Linked DNA regions of Homo sapiens: regions 1, 2 and 4 are each linked to region 3. The links are contacts of gene promoters, found by promoter capture Hi-C in blood cells and fetal thymus (Javierre and others, 2016). All regions are on one chromosome and are shown on one strand. The core of a region is centred on a gene start or on the middle of the fragment in contact, and the rest is flanking DNA. Distances in the headings are between cores, read along the strand shown.

The links. Contacts are between HindIII fragments. The CHiCAGO score rates a contact against its expected background, and 5 or more counts as called.
Region 1: a contact is called between the fragment with the promoter of ATP1A4 here and the fragment with the promoter of PEX19 in region 3, in 1 of 17 cell types (megakaryocytes). The highest score is 5.0, in megakaryocytes.
Region 2: a contact is called between a fragment that was not itself captured here and the fragment with the promoter of PEX19 in region 3, in 12 of 17 cell types (naive CD4 T cells, naive CD8 T cells, endothelial precursors and 9 more). The highest score is 9.1, in naive CD4 T cells.
Region 4: a contact is called between the fragment with the promoter of KCNJ10 here and the fragment with the promoter of PEX19 in region 3, in 2 of 17 cell types (fetal thymus and erythroblasts). The highest score is 5.2, in fetal thymus.

What each region holds. Positions count from the first base shown.
Region 1 is chr1:160,147,008-160,153,010 of GRCh38, forward strand. ATP1A4 (ATPase Na+/K+ transporting subunit alpha 4) reads left to right here and starts at 4,596. Exons shown (of 22, transcript NM_144699.4): 1 at 4,596-5,180. The coding sequence starts at 5,034. The HindIII fragment of the contact is 4,407 bases long and covers 2,588-6,003 here.
Region 2 is chr1:160,087,580-160,093,792 of GRCh38, forward strand. KCNJ9 (potassium inwardly rectifying channel subfamily J member 9) reads left to right here. Exons shown (of 3, transcript NM_004983.3): 3 at 1-2,984. The coding sequence ends at 238. IGSF8 (immunoglobulin superfamily member 8) reads right to left here. Exons shown (of 7, transcript NM_052868.6): 3 at 6,131-6,213; 4 at 5,345-5,752; 5 at 4,703-5,116; 6 at 4,229-4,359; 7 at 3,764-4,029. The coding sequence ends at 4,244. Among named protein-coding and RNA genes, the nearest start is that of IGSF8, 7.9 kb to the right of the region's middle. The HindIII fragment of the contact is 8,135 bases long and covers 1-6,213 here.
Region 3 is chr1:160,283,743-160,289,622 of GRCh38, forward strand. It overlaps PEX19 (peroxisomal biogenesis factor 19), which reads right to left and starts at 1,391. Exons shown (of 8, transcript NM_002857.4): 1 at 1,313-1,391. The coding sequence starts at 1,382. LOC107985219 (a long non-coding RNA gene) reads left to right here and starts at 623. Exons shown (of 3, transcript XR_001738265.2): 1 at 623-1,113; 2 at 2,575-2,619. It overlaps COPA (coat protein complex I subunit alpha), which reads right to left. Exons shown (of 33, transcript NM_004371.4): 33 at 4,852-5,880. The HindIII fragment of the contact is 4,290 bases long and covers 1-1,525 here.
Region 4 is chr1:160,065,896-160,072,332 of GRCh38, forward strand. It overlaps KCNJ10 (potassium inwardly rectifying channel subfamily J member 10), which reads right to left and starts at 4,265. Exons shown (of 2, transcript NM_002241.5): 1 at 4,127-4,265. RefSeq lists enhancers at 3,647-3,816, 5,994-6,353, a cis regulatory region at 3,732 and a silencer at 4,227-4,456. The HindIII fragment of the contact is 4,127 bases long and covers 1,796-5,922 here.

The DNA.
Region 1 (6,003 bases), core at 3,346-5,845, 130 kb before region 3:
CAGGAATTTGAGACCAGCCTGGGCAACACAGTGAGACCTCATCTCTATTAAAAAAAAAAAAAAAAAAATTAGCCTGGGGTGGTGGCCCACACCTATGGTCCCAGTCACTTGGGAGGCTGAGGGAGGAGGATCGCTTGAGTCTGAGAGGTTGAAGCTGCAATGAGCCATGGTTGGACCACTGCACTCCAGCCTGGGTAACAGAGCAAGACTCTGTTTCAAAAAATAAAAATAAATAAATAAAAATTCTAAATAAATAAAACTTTGTTTTTAGCGAGCATAACTCCCTAAAAATCCAAGAAATTCAGCCAAAACAAAGCAACAGCATCAATAACAAAAAAAATCCTAGAAGCAATAAATTCAAAGTTACAGGGTATATGGGTATCAGTTTTCAAAGAAGCAAATGTATCCCTAAATATTAGGGAGACAGAAAATACAGCATAAAGAGCTTCTATTTACAATAGAATGAAAACAAATTACGCTCAAGGTTTACTGTGTGCAGCACATAGTAACTATTAAAGAAAATTTAAAAGTACAATGAGAAAAATAAAAAAACATGAATTCATGGAAAGCTAAACTTGACTGCCATTTGGGAAGGCAGAACGTAGTAAAGATAAAAATAAGTTACTATGAAAGAGTCAATTCAATATCAATTAAAATCCTCGCTGCATTTTTATAAAACATGACATATTGGTTGTGACATTCAGCTGCAAGAGTAATCAGGCAAGAATCTCAGAGGTTTTTTCTAAGTAATTATGAAGCAAATGAATAGATCACTGATGCTAACATATTTACCCCAACAGATTTTAAAACACATCAGACCACTGGCCGGGCGCGGTGGCTCACGCCTGTAATCCCAGCACTTTGGGAGGCCAAGGTCGGCAGATCAAGAGGTCGGGAGTTCAAGACCAGCCTGGCCAACATAGTGAAACCCTGTCTTTACTAAAAATACAAAAATTAGCCAGACATGGTGGCGCATGTCTGTAGTCCCAGCTACTCAGGAGGCTGAGGCAGGAGAATCGCTTGAACCCGGTAGGTGGAGGTTGCAGTGAGCTGAGATTGCACCACTGCACTCCAGTTTGGGCAACAGAGTGAGACTTCGTCTCAAAAAAAAAAAAAAAATCAGACCAAAGTGGCAATTATCAAAACCTTGTAGCATTAAGATAAAACCTGAAAACTCATTAGTCATTCAACATCTATTCAGGGACTATTTGTGGACCAGCTGCCCTGTGCCAAGCACTATCCTAGGAGCCAGGTATATAGCTGTGGAAAAAAACAGGGAAGGTCCCTAGGGTCATGGAGAACCAGACAAGTCAACAAGACAAGTCAATCAGACAAGTCAACAGTTAACAGGCAGGATAATTTCAGAGGGAGAGAAGTGTTGTGAAGATCAAAAGTGATAGAGAGAGGGCTGGCGCCGGAGGGGCTGTTTTGGATTTAACTATGAGAGAAGGCCTCTCCGAAGAGGTGGACTTTTGAGCTAAGATCTCTAGAACAAAATGAGGTTTCTAAAAATAATTTCAATTGATTGTATCTCCATAAAGTTGCTTTTGGGCAATGCCCATCTGCAAGACTGAGCTAAGTGTTATTGTCACATAGATGATGCATAGAAAAACATATGAATTTTAACTTTAATTCTAACCTTCTTCTTAAGAATTTTATGTTCATCTACATTAAACACAAAGACTGGGAGAAAACATTTGTGTTATATATGACAAGGGTTTCCTACAAATCAATATAAAAAAGAAAACAATGGAAAATTGGGCAAATTGTAAGAATGACAATTTACAAAATAAATAAATAAAGTCCAAGACCAGGCATGGTGGCTCATGCCTGTAATCCCAGCACTTTGGGATGCCCAGGCAGGCGGATCACCCAAGGTCAGGAGTTCAAGATCAGCCTGGCCAACATGGCAAAACCCCATCTCTACTAAAAAATACAAAAAAATCAGCTGGGTATGGTGGCGTGTGCCTGTAGTCTCAGCTACTTAGAAGGCTGAGGCACGAGAATCGCTTGAACACAGGTGGTGGAGGTTGCAGTGAGCTGAGATTGCACCGCTGCACTCCAGCCTGTCAAAAGAAAGAAAGAGAGAAAGAAAGGAAGGAAGAAAGGAAAGAGAGAAAGAAAGAAAAGAAGAAATGAAAGAAAGAAAGAAAACCAGAAAGCCAGTAAACATAAGAGAAAATGCTCACATTGACAATTTAAAAATGCAAATTAAAACTACAAGATATCAAAGTTCACTGATTATAATAGTAAAAATCAAGGTCATCTAGCATAATCAAAGGTGTGGAAGGCAGACATTCTTGCATCCTGTTGTTGGGATGCAGATAGATAAACACTTTTAAAGACCAATTGGCAGAATCTTTTAAGATTGTTAATGAGTGTACTCTATGATTCAGCAACAGGAACTGATTCTACAGAAATAGAAGCTCAAGGGCCTGATGATATCTATGTGCAAGAATGACACTCTAGCAATTTTATTAATGGTTAAAAAAATGGAAAATATCTCATAAATCCATCAGTAATGGGAATGATTGAATAGAGCATGGTCAATACAGAATATGGAAGCCTCACAGCACTGAAAAAAAGAAGCTTTATGTACATGACAGGTTGGTAGAGAGTTGAATGATTGTTTAAAAGTTGAAAAATACCTCCTTTTAGATATCTATTTGTATAAACATAGAAAAAAGACTGGAAGGACATGCAGCACATTGTTACCAGCAGTAACTTCAGCAGTGGGGAGAATCTGAGTTTGGAGGGAGGGAAGGTGGGGCTTTCAATTTTTATCTTAAACATTTTTAATAGAGAAGAAAAATCCAATCTGTTAAAGAAATAGACGATCATTTATCCCAGCTGGGAAGGGAGCATTTCTATTTCTGAATATTCAAGGAGGATTGCATCAGCACCAAGATGAATGTTTCCAGATACAGTCATATTTTTAAAAAGCATGCCCAACCAAAATGCAATTAAATAAATATCAGGCCAGGCTTGGTGTCTCACTTATGTAATCCCAACATTTTAGGAGGCCAAGGCCAAGGATTGCTTGAGCCCAGGAGTTTGAGACCAGCCTGGGCAACACAGGGGCACCCCGTCTTTACTAAAATAAAATAAAAAAAATTAGCCGGGCATGGTGGCACATGCCTGTGGTCCCAGCTACTTGGGAGGCTGAGGTGGGAGGATCACTTGGACCTGGGAGGTTGAGGCTGGAGTAAGCCATAATCGCACCATTACACTCCAGCCTGGGCAACAAAGTGAGATCCTGTCTCAAAAAGTAAATAAACAAATATCAAACAACAGAATGGGAAAATCTATGTGACGTGCATAATTGAAAAATATATATAATGGTTGACAGAAAAGTATAGATGCTTCAGATTATTCTTGGAAGGAGGTAGAATCCTATGGACATGCAAAACATATATACAGTTAATATAGTCAAAGCACTTACTGAGACACCAGAGAAGGTCAATGGAAGAGGTAAGTACATCATTTTAAAATGAGAAAATGCAACGCTATCACATGGAAAAGCATATTTTTACCCTCACTGAGAAGAGCTGCATATTAATCCACAAATAAAACTACTACTGAATTCAAGCTACCTATTGAGCACATACTATATATGTCACATAGTGCTTTTTGTAGAGCACCTCACTTAAGGTAGAAGGTATCCTCTTTTAAAAATAAGAAAAGAGAGGTACAGAGGTTAGGTAACTTGCTCAAAGCCACACAGCTGACAAGTGGAGGAGTTGGGATTGAAATCCAGGACTGGTTCCAGAGCCCAAGATCTGATCTATTCTGCTAGCTGATCTCCTAAAATTAAAAGATCAAACCCAATGTTAGTGGAAAAGTGTGCCTTGCTAAAAAACACACACAGAGTACCTGCTTTTTTTTTTTTTTTGAGATGGAGTCTCAAAAACAGACGGGAGAATATTAGTCCAAACTGCAACTGCACCATTTTGTAAGCTCCCTGCTATGGTTTTTTGTTTGTTTGTTTGTTTGTTTGTTTGTTTGTTTGTTTGTCTGAGATGGAGTCACTCTGTCACCGAGGCTGGAGTGCAGTGATGCAATCTCAATTCACTGCAACCTCTGCCTTCTGGATTCAGATGTTTCTCCTGCCTCAGCCTCCCGAGCAGCTGGGATTACAGGTGCCCACCACCACACCTGGCTAAATTTTGTATTTTTAGTAGAGATGGGGTTTCACCATACTGGCCACGAAGGTCTCGATCTCAGCCTCCCAAAGTGCTGGGATTACAGGCATGAGCCACCGCGCCCGGCCGAATACCCGCTTTATTTTTGAGTCATCTATTTGGCATACCTCTAAGCCTCCAAAGTCTGCAGGACCACACAAGAACTTTGTTCTAGTTCTGCCCTCAGACTGAAACTCTTTCTGTAGCAGGGCCTGCTCCAATCGTCCTCAAACCCAAAGACTGAGACTTCTAGGTTCTTGGTTAAAACCTTCATGAGGCCTTTGCGACAGCAGACCTGGACCATCGCCAAGGCAAGACTTCTGGATTCTTGGTTAGAACTTTCAGGAGGCCTTTGTGATGCCAGACCTGGGTCATTGCCCCAGCAACCACAGGGCCTGGGACTGGGGGGTTCCCAGATCCTTGAAGCTCACTCCGCCTCCTCACTCTCACTGCATTTCCCACCTTCCTGTGGGCCTTGCGGCATCTTCATCACTGAGGCACCTGGTTACGCTTCACCTCTTGTTTCCTGCCCTCACTGCATTCCCTCACCTCTACCTTTTTATCCTTCCACCCTAGGCTTCTCTCCTCCCTCTTCCCTCACTCCTGACTCTTCCTCTTCCCAGCGGACGGCTGGAGGACCGCTCAGTCTCTCCTCTCTCACTTCCCTTCCTCTCTCTCACCTTCACCACCCAACACCTCCCTCCCTGCCTCTTTCTTTCTGCTCCCTCATTCTCTCCCCACCACTCTCTTCTCGTGGCCCCCTTGCCCGCGCGCCCTCTTCCCTTCCCCTTGCCTCACTCTCTCAGCTTTCTTCCCACAGTTGAGCTCGGGCAGCTCTTTCTGGGGATAGCTATGGGGCTTTGGGGGAAGAAAGGGACAGTGGCTCCCCATGACCAGAGTCCAAGACGAAGACCTAAAAAAGGGCTTATCAAGAAAAAAATGGTGAAGAGGGAAAAACAGAAGCGCAATATGGAGGAACTGAAGAAGGAAGTGGTCATGGTGAGGCCACCCAAAGTGGGCGCTGACAGCTGCCCTCTGAAAACACTCCTCCACCTATCTTTAACATCTTACCTTGAGAATGAAACACACAGGCCAGAGCCACATCTCTTCTCTGTTAGGCTTTGGAGGGAAGGAGAGGGTTAAAAAAAAAAAAAAAGATACACACAGAGAGACAGGGCAGCTCAACAGCAAGCACAGGTATATTGCAGACACCTGTGGAAGTGGGGGATCAGCTTAATTCCACAGTCCACTGCCACTTACAGGCTGGGTACTTATAGGGATGGATGGGAGGAGTCTGGGCTGTATGGCCTGCTGCCTGGCAGGATATCGATAAGATGTTCTCATGATGAGGTGATTTTTGGCCCTTGTTTCCACAGAATATAATCATGGTATTCCCTGGACCTTTGCCCAGCAGGATGTGATAGGGATGTTTCTTTAGTGGGGTCTTTGTCTTTAATTGGGCCTTCGTCTGCCCTGTGGTCAGGTGGTTAGGCAGGCTGTTTCTCTGGCCCGAACCCCCGTGAAATGTTTCACTTTGACCAAGGCCTGTAAAATAGTGGGGAGCTAGGCCGGGCGTGGTGGCTCACACCTGTAATCCCAGCACTTTGGGAGGCTGAGGCAGGCAGATCACCTGAGGTCAGGAGTTTGAGACAAGCCTGGCCAACATGGTGAAACCCCGCCTCTAAAAATACAAAAATTAGCTGGTCCTGGTGATGGGCCCCTGTAATCCCAGCTGCTTGGGAGGCTGAGGCAGGAGAAACACCTGTTGGGAGGCAGAGGTTGCAGTGAGTCGAAATCGCACCACTGTACACCAGCCTGGGCA
Region 2 (6,213 bases), core at 2,462-4,961, 190 kb before region 3:
CGAAGTGGACTATGCCAGCTTTCACGAGACTTTTGAGGTGCCCACACCTTCGTGCAGTGCTCGAGAGCTGGCAGAGGCTGCCGCCCGCCTTGATGCCCATCTCTACTGGTCCATCCCCAGCCGGCTGGATGAGAAGGTGGAGGAGGAGGGGGCGGGGGAGGGGGCGGGTGGGGAAGCTGGGGCTGACAAGGAGCAGAATGGCTGCCTGCCACCCCCAGAGAGTGAGTCCAAGGTGTGACCAGCTTCCTCCAGACCCCTGTGGCAGACCGGGGGCCAGACACAGATACATGGGGAACTGCATATCGGAGGTGGTGGAGGAGGAGGAGGAGGAGGAAGGCAAAGCCCCTGGAAATGTGCTAAAGTTGGAAAGTCCCCGTCCCCCAGAACCTCAAGTCTAGAAACCAGTATGGAAGGGAGGGGTCCTGATTTCAGGGAAATGGAGGGTGGGGCCGGGTGAAAATGCCAGTCTGTGTTTGACCTTCACATTTGTTCATGAGTGGATGGATGGACAGAATGATGGACTTTTGGGGGTTGGATGGGAAGATGGTAGCAGATAAAGACAGCTGACAGATACATAGATGGACCAGTAGACAACTGGTCCACTCAGGGCTGCCACTAACCTGTAGAACACCCCTGTGCAAATTTTAAAAAGGAACCCTTTTCCTCCAGACAGATACAGCCCCAAACCAGGGTGCATGGCTTGGGGAGCAGAGTATAGGATGGATTGCAGTCCCCAGTCACCTCTTCTGCCAGCCTCCCCACATATGGCACAACTGTCTAATGACACGGTAGGCCAAGCTGAAGTGAAGGAGAAAGGAGCCGGACCAAGATGGGCACATGAGGAGGGTGCCCTCCTAGCTCCACCCTCACCAGGATGAAGGCGTGCAAGGGGCTCAGCAAGGTGTGAATGACCTTAGTCCGCAAGTTCAGGGAAGCAGGCAGAGCGGGGAGGTGCCTGAGCTGGGGCCTGGAGAGGGGCCTGGGAAAGGAAAACCAGGGATAGCTATTTTCTTACAGTGGAGTGAGATCTTACAGGTATCAGGCACAGGCAGGAAGAGAGAGAGAGAGGTTCTGGGGAGGAAGGGCCAGGAGAGAGATCTAGAAAGTGGGTTCACTAGAGCTGGGAAACAGGGAGCCCCTAGGAAAGCAGTGTGTCCTTGGGGCACAGTCATTCACATCACTGATTGGGTGCCATGTGGAGTGGACATTCAAAAACCTGGTTCCTGTCCTCAAAATAAGGGGCACCTGGGAAAACAGAGGAATCTACCTGTGGTGACTGAACGAGGGATAATTCAAACTGACAACCTGTGCAGTCCCGTGGAGGGTAGGGGAGTGTGGGTGATCAGAAGGCTGGGGCCAGTGTAAGGCATAGGGAATATGTAAGTCAGGAGTTAGAAATCTCCAGTGTGCGTTGGAATCACCTGGAGGGCTTGGTAAAACACAGATTTTTGGGCTCCACTCCAAGGGTTTCTGACCCAAGAGGTGGGGACCAAAACCATGCATTCCTAAGAAGTCCCCAGGTCATGCTGCTGTTGCTGGACTGAGGACCACACTTTGAGAACCTGTGCTCTAAGTGAATACTTGGAAGTCGTTTCAGGACATGGGGCATAGAAACTGAGGAGTAGCTGAGAGGAAGATGAAGAGAAGCTGAGAAGAAGCTGAGGATCCTCACAGGAGCAGACAGAGAAATGTGAAGGGTGGGGTTTTATGTGTGGGAAAGGGACCCGAAGCCCAGGCTGAAGAGTTTAACTTTGGGCCCAGAAACTCAACCATCAATGGAAACAGGGCAGTGACAAGTGGAGGGGGTGTCTGGAAGCTGAGCAGGCCCGACAGAGAGATGAAGCCATCAGAAGGACTTGAGGGGGCTCCTGGGGAGGTCGGGGGGAGGTGGAGCAGGAAGAGTTTTAGGGGCAAAGGACAGAACCCCTTGTAGGACTGGAGGCAAGATTGAATGTGGGAGAAAATCGGAGAGAAGCGATAGGAGTTAGAACATCTGGATGTGTCTGCAGCCTGCTGTCAGCCCAATTGGGCCAGGGGGTCCCAAAGACGCATATTCTCACCCCACCTCCACCTGCTTCCTGATCACATCCCAGTCACCAGCGGCAGCTTCCTGGATAGTGAGGGAGAACAACTGCAAGTTGAGAGAGGCAGAGGGGTGGAAGGGACCTGAAGCTGGCCTGGAGAAAAGCATAGGCCCAGGAGAGCCTGCCCTGGGACAGCGCCTGTCTCCCACACAGCAGCACTGGCCCAGCAAGGACCTCCTCCCTTGGCCCTGGCCACATCCCACTCCTGCCCTTTCATAAGCCCCCTGGGGAAAGCACTCCAGTCTTCTCTGTTCCAGGCTGGGCAGATAGGGTCCTATGGGGCACAGCCAGGGTCCTATGGGCATAGCCAGGGCCCTATGGGTCCTCTGGAAGCAAGAAAGGGGGCCATGGAAGCAGCCCAGACAGCTGGGGTTCACTCAGAGAGGACCCAAGTCCCAGTCCCTTCCTTTCAGTCAAAACACGGATATCTTTGCCTCAGGTCACAGGGCCACTGGGGCCCTGTCATCAAAGATGAGATTCCTGAAGCCTGGCATTGACTGGTCCCCTAAGAACAGATGTTGGGATGGAGAATGGGGATTCATTTGGGTTTCAGTAAAACAGGGGGGTCTGGACAAGAGCGGGTGGGCTACTTGGTATCCACACACACGCACTCACACAGGAGCCAACCCATTGCAGCTGAACAAGCAGAGAAACTCAGTCTGGAAAGGCCCCTCCTGCCTGCTGAAGTCACTGAGACCCTGCCACACCTCTCCTCGCCACTGTCACCACTCAGGGCACCACTGTACAGTGCAACAAGTCAGGAGACCTAGGTCCTACTCCTGACACTTGCTAATTAGCTCTATGACTCTGGGCAAATCGCATATCTGGGCCTCAGTTTCCTCATCTGTAAAAATGACAGCAAACTCGTAATGCTCAATAAATGTTTAAATAACAACTGAAGGAGGCCTGCCAGATGCCTCTTAAGGTGCCGTGCAGGTAAGAATTTTAGGATCAGAGAATCCTTAGGCAAGAAAATTCATGAAACTCCTGGGGCACTGGAGGAGGGGTGAAGCTGAAGGGTGGGAGGGAGGAGACCCCAGGGTAGGTACAGGCAGGTGAAGCGGGTATATGCAGGTGTAGTGGGTATATGCGGGTAGAGGGTATATGCAGGTACAGCGAGTACATGTGGGTGCAATGGCTCTGTGGACACACAGGCCCTCCCCTGACTGCCTGTTGTCCCAGCCTGAGTATCAGTTGTGTTCTGAGGCTTCTATTCTGCTGCTATGGGTCAGAAGGAACAACAATTTCAGCCCCAGGGCCTAGTGGGAGGAGTCAGGTCCAAGACTAGCCTGACCAGGAGAATGAGACGTGGGAAGAGTTGGGGAAAGTCTGGGAAGCTCAGAAAAGGCACTGCCCCTGGAGGCCCATGCCCTTTAACATGGGAGAAGCTGGTGCGGGGGTGACCACAGGCAGCTGGAACCTACCCTCCTTTTCTATGCTTCCCTCCCCAAGTAGGAGTCCAATCAGGAGTTGTCTCAGCCCCGACAGTTCAGGCTGCAGATGGAACCCAGGTGTCCCCTCCTGGGGTGGGTGGCATGGCCCATGGAGGCCAGATGGTGTTTGTGGTGGGAAGAGAGGCCTGGGTCATCCAGAATAGGTTGTCAATCCCCAACCACCTCCCTACTATGCACCCTGAGCGTTTTACAGTCTCATGGTAGGGAAGACACAGCCAAGCCTGCTTTTTATAAAACAAGTTTATTCACATTTTAGAAAAACTAATTCCAGGACAGGAAATGGCCTCCCTATAGGATCCCTAAGAGATCAAGAACAGAAGGCCAGAGGGAGGGGCTTGGGAGGGAAGGAGTGGGGAAGGGGAGGCACGTCTCCCATTCTGGGTAGTGGGAGGTCAAATAAATTAAAGGAAGAGTGGACAGAGGGAGAGGGTGTCCAGGCAACCAGAGGAGGGCTTGGAGCTGGGCCGGAAGACAGTCGACACCTGCAAGACCTGAAAAGGGTGCCCGGTGTGGGCTAAGGACAGAGAGCCCTGAGTGGGGCTCCCTCGCGGCCTCCACCCCTTAACAGGGCCCTGTGGATCTGAGCTGCCTACTCCTCCTCCAGGTGGGGCCTGGGAGGGAGCAGCTTGGTTCAGGACTTGGGGGTGGGAAGCCCAATGAAAACAAGGTTGGGGGGTTCTTTTCCCTCACCTGGGGAGTAAGGGATCACCGTTTTCGAAGCCTCTTCATGAAGCAGCAAGTGATGGTACCAAGGACAGTGGCACCAGTGACTAGGGCCACCCCTGTACCCACCAGCAGAGGCACAAATAGGGTGTCCAGGGCTGGGGGAGAGAGGATGACTGTTCAGAGAGGATGCCATCATCCTCCACCCATACACTTGCCTCTGCGCTTTCCCCATCAAGTTCTCTGAACCCACCTTCTCCATTCACAGACACCCCCATCCCTGCCCACAGCCTGCCCCCTCAGCATGCAAGTCAGCATCAACCACAGAGGACCCCGTGCAGGTGGGCACTGCAGGGCTGGAAGTTGGATTTTTTGAGACTTCATGTGACATAATGTGGAGGAGAGAGATAGTAGCAGGAGGGTCAGAAGATGGGAAGGGAAGGCCAGTGGCAGAGGCCAGGAGGAAGGCAGAGTGAGGAGGGTGGAGGGGGTGTCACTCACCATGCATGTAGGGGTAGACTGTAACAGGCCCTGAGCGGGCACTGCCCGCCTGGTACCAGCTGTAGTCGGCATGCTGCACCCAGGCGCTGGGGGCACAGTGGTACACGCCTTCATCCTCGGGCCCCAAGCTGTGTAGTCTCAGCCGATGGCTTCGGGGCCCCACCAGCTCTACGCTGACAGGGCCTCCTCCAGGCCGGACTCCCAGCTCTGCCACACCATCCTGGCCTACGCCACCCACCAGCTGGGCAGGGACAGAGCTGAGCTCTCCGTCCTCTGGTCGCTCCACCCACCAGCTGGCGGCCAGCCGCAGTCCTGGGGGGCCACCCCGCACAGAGATGTTGCACAGCAGGGAGGCAGTCTCCCCGCGGTACACTGTGCCTCCTGCTAGCCATGCCACAGCCTCCAGCACCACACCTGCAGAACAAAGGACATGGGGTCAGAGGGTGCAGGGCCAGGGAGCATGGGGTTAGGGCTGCCGCCAAGCACCGCCCCAGGAAACTCAGGGTATTCCCACAATCTTGGTAGAAGAGGAGCGTGAGGCTGTGGCCTGCAAACAGCTGACGGAGAGGGAGGGGTCATGGAAACAGAAGGAAAAGGGGTTGACAATCCTCGAACCCCGTCCAGGGCCCAGCCCCCTCTCACCTTCCTCCCGCACATGTACAGGGAGAGGCCGGGAACGGGCACTGGCTGCTTCACGAAGCCGGGTCCCAGACCCTCGAACATAGGCTTTGGCGAGGCAGCGGTAGGTGCCCGCATCACCAGGCCTGGCAGCCTCTAGCCGTAGCCGGTATGTTCTGGATGCCACCTTCTCCATGGCAATGTGTCGGCCCTCATAGCCAGGGCCCAGGCTGCCCACACCCTCTGTGTCCAGCTGGGCTACCAGGCGGCCGGGCCCAGGTGCCCCCGCAGGTGCCATCTCCCAACCTACAGAGTATGCAGCATGACGGCCTGCTGGGGGAAGTGCCCCTGACACATTGCACAGCAGTTCCAAGGGCTCCCCTGGGCCGATCCGACGTTCACCAGGCCCCACTGTCACTGCCAGCTGGCTGGCTGAAACACAGGTAGGGGAAGAGGTGTCATGGAGGCAGGAGGGGACACAGAGGCACCCGATTCCCCAACTTCCTGTTTCCTACTTGACAGCAGCAACTTCAAAACCTCCTGTCTCCCCCTCACTAGGTATGACCATCTTTCTATTTAGGGGCTTGAATCTCACCCCTCAGCATGGGCCTCCTATCTCTATACCCAATTTCTGAGCAGAGAAAACCCATCAAGGGCCGGGGGAGAGAAATGCTAGCAAGGCTGCTCACTCTGTGGAAGATGAGTTCCTTGGAGTCAGATGATGGCTATCTGGTACCCCCTGTGGCCACAGTGCCCACCAGGATACTGTCCCTCCCAGCTCCCACAGTGGGATGTATAAGTGGCACTTACACAGCGTCTGCACATCCACGTGGGCCAGGACGGCCCTTTTCTCTGCAATCTGGGCCCAGCTGCCATCAGGATCCTGAATCCAC
Region 3 (5,880 bases), core at 141-2,640:
GCCAACTTTCCTCAATTTTCCTCCTTGAGTCCCCCACCTCCCCAGACCACCCTCAATGAGCCTCCTACTTCCTTCTGGATTACCTAATTTATTGTGAGCAAAGGCAAAGAAATCCCTTAAGGTGGAACAAATGTCCATCTCAGAGCTGGGAGGAGAGGATTAAAAAGTTCTGCAGAGACATCTCCATCTATAGTGTCTCCCTTGCCACACCCTAACGATTCCCTAGAAATCCCATACAAATACCCAACAGTAGTAGAGAACACAGATGTCCTCATCCCTCTGAACTCACTCTGGAGCTCTAAAAGGAATAACTTGGTGAGAAAGCACAGGACATCCCACCCAGCTTCCTGTTGGTACTGGTACCAGCACAGACTGAGGGACTACATACCAGACTCCATGGTACGGCATTAAACTATCTTCTCTTATTCTCCAGTTTAGTGCTCCCCAACAACCTTCTAGAGCTCCCTTTGGCCTGATCTCTGCAGATAACCGTACACTAATTTACACAGTCACTTGGCACTCCTCAGGGTTTCTGTTCATTTTTCTGCCTGCCCACATCTCCGTGATTGAGCAAGCGATTACAAATTCACCTCTGCCCTGAAAAGCCTGTGTCCTCACCACCATTCTGTTCGCCAGGCCTAGGGAGAGAGCACTGGCCCTACTCTGGGCAGGAAGTCAACAGGGGAGTGGAGAGTAATGCTAAGAAAACATCCCCCGTCTTTCAGGAGGGTGAACTGCTTTCCCCTGAAATCGCCACATCCTCAGTTTCTCAAAATAAGGGAAAGGAGTCCGCTTGAGCTACTGACAAGATGAAAGAACTGTTAAGGGGCCTAACGAGAGAAAGAGAAAAGGACTAGGAGGAGAAAAGTGTCTTTCGTGTTAAGGAAGACAGGACGAGGCACACAAGGACCGGCCACGAGCTTGCTAGGAGTTAATGTAAGCAATCAGTGAGTGCGTAGTTCGCTACCCAGCAAGAACCAAATGCTGCTGCTGCTGCTACTGCTGCTGAAGTCGAACTTTAAGAACTCAGTAACCTAAAGAGGAGTTTGAAGAGGTATCATGAAACGCCGTCCTGCGGAAACATCCACCATCCGGACCACTGAGGGACCCCAGGTGAGCTCCCCAGCTCCAGTCGCCGGGGTGGGGCAGGATGACCCAGAGATTTTTGGGGGGCTCGGGGGTCAGACTCTCCGCCCCCATTTAACCTTTGGAGAGCCTCTCCTGCCCGTCCCTAATATCTCAGGTTCACTTAACCCCCAGAATGGGTCCTCACACGTGCCCTCTTCGGGCCTTTCCCACTATGGGCTCTTACTTTCCAGAAGCTCCTCCAATTCCCTGTCCGCTTCGGCCCCGACACTACAGCCTTCCTCAGCGGCGGCCATCTTGCTACCTCCGACTTGCCGTAGGAGGCGGGACCTCCTCGGTGCCGACACGCCCTCCACCCCTTCGCTCCCGCCCTCTTCTGCCTCGGGTAACCAATGGTATTGTTGACCAGTGCGGAACCGCCATTTTTAAAGGGCCAGGAAGCTTTGAGTGTTTGTGTTTTGGGTATTTTTCCCTTTTCTCCTGTGAAACAGAATTAGGGATAAGATAGGGTTATTTTCTGTCTGGTTTTAGAGGCCCGGACTCCTTTCTTTCAACTTCCCAAATTACCTGGCGAAGCTCTTTCATTATTTTTTCCTGAGCTGTGAGTAGGCCAGATTGAGACAAACTGCCTACAAATAACCAGAATCTAAACATATATAATTGATATGACAATTATGGCACATAACATACTACTTTCTCTCACTTCATTTTTTTTTTTTTATTTTTTTTTGAGAAGGAATCTTGCTCTGTCGCCTACGCTGGAATGCAGTGGCGCCATCTCGGCTCACTGCAGCCTTGGCCTCCCGGGTTCAAGCGATTCTTCCTGCCTCAGCCTCCCGTGTAGCTGGGATGACAGGCGCGCGACACCACGTCCGACTAATTTTTGTAGAGACGGGGTTTTAACATGTTGGCCAGGCTGGTTGGCCAGGCTGGTCTCGAACTCCGGACCTCAGCTGATCCGCCCACCTCGGCCTCCCGAAGTGCTGGGATTACAGGCGTGAGCCACTGCGCCCGGCTTCACTTCATTGTTTCCCTCAAATATTATCTTTTCTGAAACGCTTTCCTTGGCCATTCCCGTTCCTTTTCTTCCTAACACTGAACAGTATCTGACATACTATCTACCGTACTTTTTTATTCTCCGCTCCCCACCCTGCAGAATTTAAACACCATGAACGCAAAGATTTTCGTCTGTTGTCTTCACTGCTGTAAAGCCCAACTCCCAGGCTAGGGTTTAAAACTTAGTAGGCATTCATTGGCCACTCTTTGCTCTCGCAGTCCCTAATCAGGCACATCTGTCTGCCCAATCTAGTGGCATCTCTCATTTCCTATTATCTATTAGAACTGTTTGATTAAAGGACACAGGGCCGGCCAGGAACTTAGAACTCCATGTTATTAAGAGAGCCTCTGGTACCTTGGACTGAGCAGGGCAATTCGAATGCAGTAGTAATAGACTTACTTTCCCTGAACAATCTCCTTTTCTCCACACAGAACCCAACCTCCAACTGAGTGAACACGGGGAATGCTCAGATAGAGGTAACTCTAGACGTCCCTTTCCTCCTTTGGAATTGTTCTATTCAGATGTCAGAATGTAGCAACTGTTTCACATACAAATCTGTTTTCGCACTTAGAGAGCACCTATTATTAAGGTCTTGTTCTGGGCACAGTGAGGACAGAGAGATAAATCAGGACCACCCCCTGCTGTAAGGTAGCTAAGTGGGGGTGAGCCGGAGGTATGATGAGATATACACACAGTATGATACAAGGTAAGAATTTTAAATGAAAAAAAATCCTGTGTTAAGTCACCTCATCACTTTCATTCTTAGCTTCCTAAACACACATTTGAGTACTGCATCAAGCACCAGATCAAGCACTTACTATGTCCTTCACAGATAGGGCACAGACTTGTAAAATCATATCTGCAAAACCTGTTTTCTTCCAACCACAAGTAGTGTGTTTTGGGATCAAAATATTATGAACTGTGAGTTAGAAAGCCTAAATTCCAGCCCCAATTCTGCCACTAATCACTTTTGAAGTCCTTTACAATTCTAAACTTCTGTAATCAAATCCTTTCCTGATAAACCTGTTTTCCAACACCTGCAACATAATTTATTCCAGACTTTCTCATTCAAACTGCTTACACGTGTATCTCCAATATGGCTATAGTTGTAACAAGCACGTCAAAAAAAGAAAACTTGTCTATCAACAGGCATCTCTATTGGTTTTATTTTTTGAGACAGAGTTTCACTGTTGCCCAGGCTGGAGTGCAGTGGTGCAATTTTGGCTCACTGCAGCCTCCACCTCCCGGGTTCAAGTGATTCTCCTGTCTCAGCCACCTGAGTAGCTGGGTCTGCAGGCTCGCGCCACCATGCCCAACTAATTTTTGTATTTTTAGTAGAGACAGTGTTTCACCATATTGGCCAGGCTGGTCTTTAACTCCTGACCTCAAGTGATATGCCCACCTTGGCCTCCCAAAGTACTGGGATTATAGATGTGAGCCACTACACTTGGTCAATTGGCTTTAAACTAATGTAATATAAGCATGTTAATTAAAAGATAATAGATGATAATTAAAATGGAGTCAAAAACAAGCATGATTCTTTCTTTGCATTATTTCTTAAACTTCTTTCTGCTTTTCTATTTTTACTCCTAATATTCCTAACATCTCATCTCAGTATTTACTGACCTACTGACTGCTCCTTCTGCCCTTCTAATGTATAGCGAATACTGTTGAATAACAGTATTTTATAACGCTTTCATATCACTCTGTTCCTTAAGGATTTAATGGTTCTCCACAGTTTATCGAACAAATTCTAATTCTTGCCTGGGAGTCACAATTATTTCACATCTTGTATTTTTAGTAGAGACAGGGTTTCACCATGTTAGCCAGGATGGTCTCGATCTCCTGACCTCGTGTTCCGCCTGCCTTGGCCTCCCAAAGTGCTGGGATTACAGGCGTGAGCCACCACGCCCGGCCTTTTTTTTTTTTTAAGACAAAGTCTTGCTCTTGTCCCCTAGGCTGGAGTGCAATGGTGTGATCTCAGTTCACTGCAACCTCCGCCTCCCGGGTTCAAGCAATTCTCCTGCCTCAGCCTCCTGAGTAGCTGGGATTACAGGTGCCTGCCACCCTACCCAGCTAATTTTTGTATTTTTCGTAGAAACAGGGTTTCACCGTGTTGGCCAGGCTGTTCTCGAACTCCTGACCTCAGGTGATCTGCCTGCCTTGGCCTCCCAAAGTGGTGGGATTACAGGCGTGAGCCACCACTCCCGGCTAATATGTACATTTTTTTTTTTTTTGAGACGAAGTCTCGCTCTTGTACCCCAGGGTGGAGTGCAATGGCACAATCTCATTAGTAGTATGTACTCTGTTGAGAAGGCAGCCTTAGTTTAGGGATGCTGTTTAAAAAAGCAACTCTTAAGATAAAGCTAAAAAATACAACGTATAGTATGAAGAGAAGTAAAAAACAAAGTGAAGCTCCCTAATATATTGATACGAGAAAATACCAAAAATGTTAAATGAAAAAACAAAGGTACAAAATTGTTAAATAGTGTGGTTTCATTTGTGTATAAAAGGAGATAGAGAATGGCATAGTGATATCAGCATGTGCATGTATATGTGTGTGTGTGTATATATATATATATATAAAATTTCTGGAAGGATGTAAGAAAGCTGGTAACAGTGGTTACCTGTTTAGGGGAAGGTGATAGGAACTGGGTGGCTGATGAAAGGGTGGAAAGATTTGTCACAGAATAGCTTTTTATATTTACTGATTTTTCAACTATATGCATTTATTATTTATTGAAAACATGAATTTAACACGCAAAAAAGTACTTATTTTAATCGAAGGCACAGTAATGTCACTCTACCCAATTATTCTTAGCATATGACAAGCAAAATATTGTATTGTTAATGTAATCATTGTATCATTGTAATATATATAAAGTACTATTCTTTTATCTGTATATTACATGTAAAATATCTAGAACAGTGACAGTCACATGGCAGGTGCTCAATAAATATTGCTATAATTAGCAAAAGATAAAAGGCTGCAATCAAAAACAGAATAAGGGAGCTACTTGCTTTCTATCATTTTCACAGCAGTTTAGGTCCTCATATATACCCTATGAAAAACATGTGCTTCTTTTTTTCTTTCTTTTTTTTTGAGATGGAGTCTCACTCTGTCGCCCAGGCTGGAGTGCGGTGGCGCGATCTCAGCTTACTGCAACCTCCGCCTCCCGGGTTCAAGCAATCCTCTGCCTCAGCCTCCAGAGTAGCTGGGATTACAGGCACCCACCACCATGCCCGGCTAGCTTTTTTTTTTTTTTTCCAATAGTGGATGTTTATTTTGTAATTAAAAATTATTACTGGAAGGAAGATATGTACTTTGGTGGGGTGCCTGCATGGGTGAACAAGAACATGAGAGTGTCCAAGAAATAAATGGCCAAGTCAAGAAGCTCTCATAGAGATTTATTTAGTGTGAGAAATATGAGAACAATAGTTGTAAAGAACAAATCAATAACCCGCAGTGTGCATTTTGGAAAACCAAATAACTTCTTCAAATTTCTGAGTACACAGAGGGTACCTGCCTTGAAATTTAAATGTCTAAGGAAAATGGGAGATGATTAAGAGTTGGTGTGGCCTAGTCACACCAAAATGTATTTATTACATCCTGCTCCTTTCTAGTTGACAGGAAAGAAAGCTGCTGTGGGGAAAGGAGGGATAAATACTGAAGGGATTTACTAAACAAATGTCCATCACAGAGTTTTCCTTTTTTTTTTTTTTGAGACAGAGTCTTG
Region 4 (6,437 bases), core at 3,015-5,514, 210 kb before region 3:
GAGGTCATTAAGGAGGCTGCTGTGGGCATCCAGGCTGATGGGATGAACAAGCCAATCAGGAGACACAAGAAGAGAAGGGCATATAAACCTGAGAGAAGTTGTGGGGGCAAACCTGGGCCGGGAGAGGGAGAGGCAGGATGAAGAATACAAGAGCGATAGGCAGGACCATGGGAGCAGGAATGAGATGTGGGGGTTGTCTTGACCGACAGAAGAAGTCTCTGACAGAAGTCTTTGGCTGAAAGAGAAGTTGCTGAGAATGGGGAAAGAGACTATTTGGTGAAAGCTCAACCACTCAGTTCTCATTTATTGAATCTGAAGACAGGACATCTGCTTGGCAAAAACTTGTGGAAAGCAGGGGCTGTGGGTGTGGAGACCCCACCTCAAGTGATGCCCAGCCTATTGGAATCAAGGAAGGAAATGCATCTTAAACTGCTTGATAATTCTTCTACCTTCCCAAACTCCAGAAGGGTGGGAAGAAAAAACCTAGGACAGAATCTCAAAACAAAACAAAGCAAAACCCACAAAGAAGGGCTGGGACAAAGCCCAGGAACAAGGAAAGATGACACAGTAGAAAACATTAGAGTGGTGGGAGAAAAGCAATGGCCCACAACTCCACTTTTTACAGACTAAGGACCATTCCAAGCCCCTTACGGTAGTCACTGTGCATCCTCACAGCAGTTATGAGCCCTATTGTGAGGATGGGACTTCCTTAGCTACTAAGTGGTAAACCAGGACCGAATCCCACAAAGTCAGACTCCAAGGCCATGCTCTTAACCATAGTGCCTGCTGTCTCTCAGAGCGGAAAGTAGCCCTGGAACAGCAAGAGAGAGGTGCAGCAGCCACCCAGGGGAGGCCCCTGACAGTTGTCACAATAATCCCTGCACTCTGAGCTCCATCACTCCTCTCGGAAGCTTTAAGGATGGGCTTCTGTGTTTGGGGATTTTGTTGGTGGTTTTTGTTTTGTTTTGGTTGGTTTTTTTGGTCCAGAAAGTGGTCTCTCTTTCCTTCCCAGTCTCCATTTCAAATGTCTTTCCTTTTCTAGGATGTGCTTCCTGAGATCTAACCTAAGTCCTTCTAGCTGCAGCCACAATCCTTTCCCCAGGTGTTGTGCCATCGGAAAAGTTGCACAATGGCCATGTATACCCTTTCTGTGCTGCACCTTGTTGGAGGCTTGAGGTCTGATTCAGTCCTCTTCTAGCTCCTGCTTCTCCAACCTCCTTCTCCATGCCACAAAGTTCTGTTCTTACTTCTCTCTCACATTCCAGAGCCAGCCCCTCCCTTCCCCCACCACCTCAAATCCAGGCTCCAAGCTGGCAAACACCCACGGGAGGGCATTTCCCACAATCCCTTTCTCTTTGCCCTTTCAAGGTTCTGATGGGGGAGGGGAGGAAGAGGGGCCACCAGATGCACTCTCTCCCTAAAGAATGGTGGCAAACATGTAGGCTAAACTCAAATGAGGGAAGAAAAGCATTGAACTCAGCCTGCTGGAGAGACCGAAGTGACATGGCAAACTCCCATTCCCAGGAGCTGCCCAGCCAACCACCCACCATTGGGTGCTAAAACACTTAGATTTTAAATCTCCCTTTCCTCTCCAATCTTTCTGTAGTTTCATCTCAACGATGTGCCTTGGCTGATTCCTTCTCTGCCCCCTTCCAGGGCCCCACTGCTATCCTGGACAGCTTGGCCTCAGCCTGGACAGTAGCACTGACCAGTCAGGCAAGAGAAGAATCTAGGCCGAGGAGGGGAGGGAGAGTGGAGGTTTTTTTCTTCCGTCCTAAATAACCTGTGGCTGGAAAGCTTAGGGACTCCATTGCCCAATGTCTCTTTTCCTCCCCACCAATGCCAGGAGGCTCGGCCTATCTTTCCATCTTGTGTGCAGAAACCAAGAGTTTTACCAGGAGGCTCAGGAGTATCCTTTGAGGAAACAGATCTTTCTGCATGACCCACCCCCTAGAGCTTTAAACCCCCTATCCTGCCAATCACAGAATGACTCCAGAGGACTTCATCTGAGCCCACCGTGATCCAAGTGTCCCAGCCTCTCTGGTCCCAAGGAAGGTCAAGGGAAGGAAGGTCCCCGGGTCCTCTGCCAGTCACTTCCTTGTAGCTCAAGCCAACCAAGCTGGAGCTGTAAATGAGCTTATGCACAGTGATGCAGGTGGGAGGGAGCTAGAATGTGGTTCAATGGGGCACACGGAGGAGGTAGGGGATACCAGCGGGCAGATCATTAATCCCCTCACACAAACATATGCACCCATAGACTGGATGTGGGTCAGATGTTGGGGAAGATGGATTTATTTTTTCCTCAGGGTAAGGGATAGCAGAGGGGTTCTGCATTAGAGCCACAGAGGGGCTGGAACCATAACCCTGCTACCCCTGCCACTCCCACTCCCCACCCACCCTCCATCGGTGGAGTCATTGCCATTTGATATCCGCTGAGACAACTTGGCTGCTCAGGCTCTGAGTGGGGGGTGGGGGGATGGCTCAGAAAACAGCAGCTCCTTTCAGGACCCAGGTTGGCAAGGGCTTTGGGAGGCTGGACCAGCCCAGATCACCCCCCAACACCCTCTCCCTCCCTTCCTCCCTTGCCACCACCACCAAAGGACTGGGGGAAGGCAGCGGGGAAAGGAGTTGGCACTGCCTGGGCCGTGCCTATTGCCTCCACAATCCAGCCCTGGACCCTCTCCCTGGCATGATGCCTTCCATCCCCCTCCTCCCTCGTTTCTTCCTCCCTGAAGAACCAGCTATGAGTCAGGATGCCTGGTTCCTTCCAAACTTGGTCCCCTATACCCAGTCTACCCCCAGAGAAATTTACAAGCCCTACCACTTGGCACAGGATGGTACCCACCATCATGCCAGGAATATGTTCAAAAATCCTTGGAGATTAGGGAGAGAGTTTCAGGATGAAACTAAATTGAACTCACTGGTGGCTGCCCACCCCTCCTGGGGCTAATTTCATGACAACCACTCCAGGCCCTCCTCAGCACCCTTAAACAAGGCCATCTCTCACATGGGGGCCCTAAATCTCCTGTCATTATCTCCCTCCCACCCAGGCAGCCTAAAGCAGTCCCAGTGGGGAGAAAAAAAATTCAAACACCACAGCAAGAGCAGACTGGCCAGACATCTTTAGTCAGAATTTGTATTGGTAAGCAACAGAAGCAGGCTTTAAGCACTGGCCTCTTTGGGGTCCAAATCTGCACCAGCTTCTTCCCCATCTGCCTCACCCTGCCTGGGGCACTCACTGGAATTAAACTTCAAGACACCAGAACCCACCCTCACTTTTTCCCAGTGTTGTCCTTCTACCCATTCCTGGGTTCAGCTCTCCTCCCCCAAATCAGGAAGTTCCATCCTTCATCTGTTCCCTAACACAGGTGCCCTGGGTTAGTTCTGATGAGAGGAGGAATGGAATGGGAAGGGGCGTCTCCATCTGGAGGGTGAGTTTATAGAACCCAATCTGCCCTTCTCACTCTAGCAGAAGTGGCCCTGCTCCTTTCCTTCTGGAAATCCCAGTGCGAAACAGCTGGGGTGAGGGTGAGGGGCCATGAGGAGGGATGTCTTAAAATGGGAGCCACTCAGAATAGAAGGAAGAGATTGGGTGGGCAGGGGTCTGGAGCACACCAGGCTTTGGTGGCTCCCCGGTTTAAGCTGCCAGTATCTGTTTTTCTCCCCATGTGGGAACTAGCGATCATGGGTGTCACTATGTGATTGTCACTGTATGGGGAGTGGGGGAGGGGCTGGGGATGGGAGTAACCTGTCCATATGGGGAGGAGGGCGCACTGTCTGTTGTGCCTGTGTATGGGGTGCCTGGTTATGTGTGGTTGTCACTGTATTAACTAGAGGAGCAGGGATGCAACTGCTGGTCTGCCCAGTGGGAGGGGGCATCGGGAAAGCCCCTTCCTTAGATGAAAGGGCTGAGGTGACCAGCCTGGCTAGTTTCCTCGTGGGGAGCCCTTCCCAGGAGGCTCCATTTGGGACTGCCCAAGGCGGGAGGCAGGGGAACAAGACGGTGGTACCGCTGAGGCCAGGCAGGGTAGGGACTGAGGATCTGGGACCCCGATGTCTCTGGAGAGTTAGGGGGACAGGACCCGGCCGGGGCGGCAGAACTCCTTCATCAGGGCCAGGGTCTTACCTTGGGTCCGAGGTGGAGTGGCCCCTTGGATGGGCCGCGGGGCAGCGGGACAGATGGACGGACGGGGCGGGCAGGAGTTAGGAGCAGAGCTGTGCGACGGGCCGGGCCAGGACTCTTAAACCCGGAGCTGGGATCAGATAAGGGCTTGTCCGGGGGCCGGGGCCGGGGTCGGGCCGGCCGGGGGCAGAGCTGGGCCGGGCCGGGCCGCCCCCTCCCTCCGCAGCGCCGGAGCCAAACTTTGTGTGAATGGAGGGGCCCGGAGGGGGGCCGGGCAGGCGGGGGCGGGGGGCTCCGAACAGACCAATGGGAGAGTGGAGCGCCAGGCTCGAGCCGCCGAGATTGGAGGGTCTTGGGCAGGGGGCGGGGCGTGCGGGGCAAGGAAGCGGAGACCCAGACAGCTGCAGGCGCAGAGAGAAATATCCAAAGACAGAGACCCAGACAGACCCGGGGAGAAAGAGAGATGAAGAGACGATATGCGAAACGATAGGAGCTGAGCTGGCAGGGTGACAGGGGAAGGGAGAAGGAAGAAAAGGGAGGCGGTCCTGTCAGCGATGGGTTACGAGAGCTGGAGCCGGGGGGCGGGACTGGGACCGAGTTAACGAAGTGGAAATGAATTCAGGACCGGCCCAGTGGCCCTGCAGGCAGCGCCGAAGGCGGCGCCTGGAAGTGAGATTGGGGCGGAGTAGGCCTGGGCTCCCTGAGCCACAGGACTGTATCTTTGGGCACAATTCCCGTGTTGTTCACCGTCTCCTAAGTCCCCGGTGCGGTGCTGGGTGAGAGACGCGCAGCACACGGTGCCCACCTGCAGCGGCTTTCTCTGTAAGGAAAGATAAGGCCGGAACCCTCAGCGAAGTGCGGGAGGTACTGAAGGCTGTAAAAGGGAGAGGTCATTCTACTCAGAGGGCTCCTAGCAGATGTGGGAGGAAAGAGGTAACATCTGATTAGGGTCCCAAAGGAAGCAGAAGATTCAGGTGCTGAGAGATGGTCCCCAGGACTCTGTTGCATTTAAGGCAGAGGGAACAACGTAGCAGAGTCCTGGGGAGACGTGAAAATACAAGTTCACTTGGGAAACAGCATCAAACTGTCCCATTTACTAGATTAGAGTGCAGGGTGATGGTTCTCAACCCTTTCATCACCAAAGATTTCTTTAATTTTCTGAATCTATGTGTTGAGAGGTTTTAATTCACCCCCACCCCCAGCATTTATTTAAAAAGAATATAATTATTTCCTCATTTCTGATCATCATAAACATTTAACTGCTAATCAATAACCAGTGTTACCATATTGAATTGCTATAAATTCAGGTAAAAAAAGGAAAGAAACTAGGAATGTAGCTTAGTTTAACCACTAAAAGCCATAAGATAAGTAAATGTCCATTCAAATAGCCTCATTGGAGAAGCTGGAAGGACGGGACTAAAGGTTAGGCACCATAGGCAGTGTTTGTGTTAAGGGGAACATCCGGAAGAAACACAGAGTTGTGCTGATTTGTGGTCAGGCCAGAGTTTCTGTAGGCTACGGAGAGCAATTGAAGGTTCTTGGGAAGGATGGAGTAGGAGAAAGCTATGGCATTTTAGGAAAATTAATCGGGAGGTGACAAAATAGTTTGAACCAAGTGGATATAGTAGGCAAGTAGACGATAGAAAATAATTGCAATAATATAAGCATGAAGAGATGACAGCCCAAATCAGCGTGGCAATGGTGAAAAGTGGAACACAGAAAATGAATTGGAGTACAGAAAAATCAAAAGAAAATGAAAAAAGTTTGAAGCCAACTTGACATGTTGAGCAAAAGAGGGAAGCTTCAGAGATCATACTAGAGTCTCAAGTCAGGTGATCAGAACTGCGAGGTCATTCACGGGCATAGGGGAGCCTGGGGGGGATCACACCTGGTGAGGAGACTGAGGTGGGGGAAGAGGAAGTGATGAGTTCAGAGCTGGAAGCTGTGGAGAGGGGTCAGAACCAGAGAGAGAAAGGAGGTCATTGCTGCCAGGGCAGTGTGAGTTGAAGCTATGAGAACAGGGTAGATCCCAACAAAGACTGCACAGAGAAATGAGAGCCTGGCACAGAGAGTGAGGAACACCTATGTTTAGGGGATGGGAAGAAGAAGGACCCCCAAAGAGTGAAAGAGAATCCACCAGACAGGCAGGAAGGAGACAAAGAAAGTGAGATGTCATGGAGCTAAGGAAGGAGAGACTGTTAAGGAGGAGGTTCTAACAGTGCCAACAAGTACAGAGAGAAGAGGCATTGGGTTTGGCAGTGACAAAGTCTCTAGTGACATTTGAGAGCAATTTCAGAAGAGTGAGCAAGGTGGG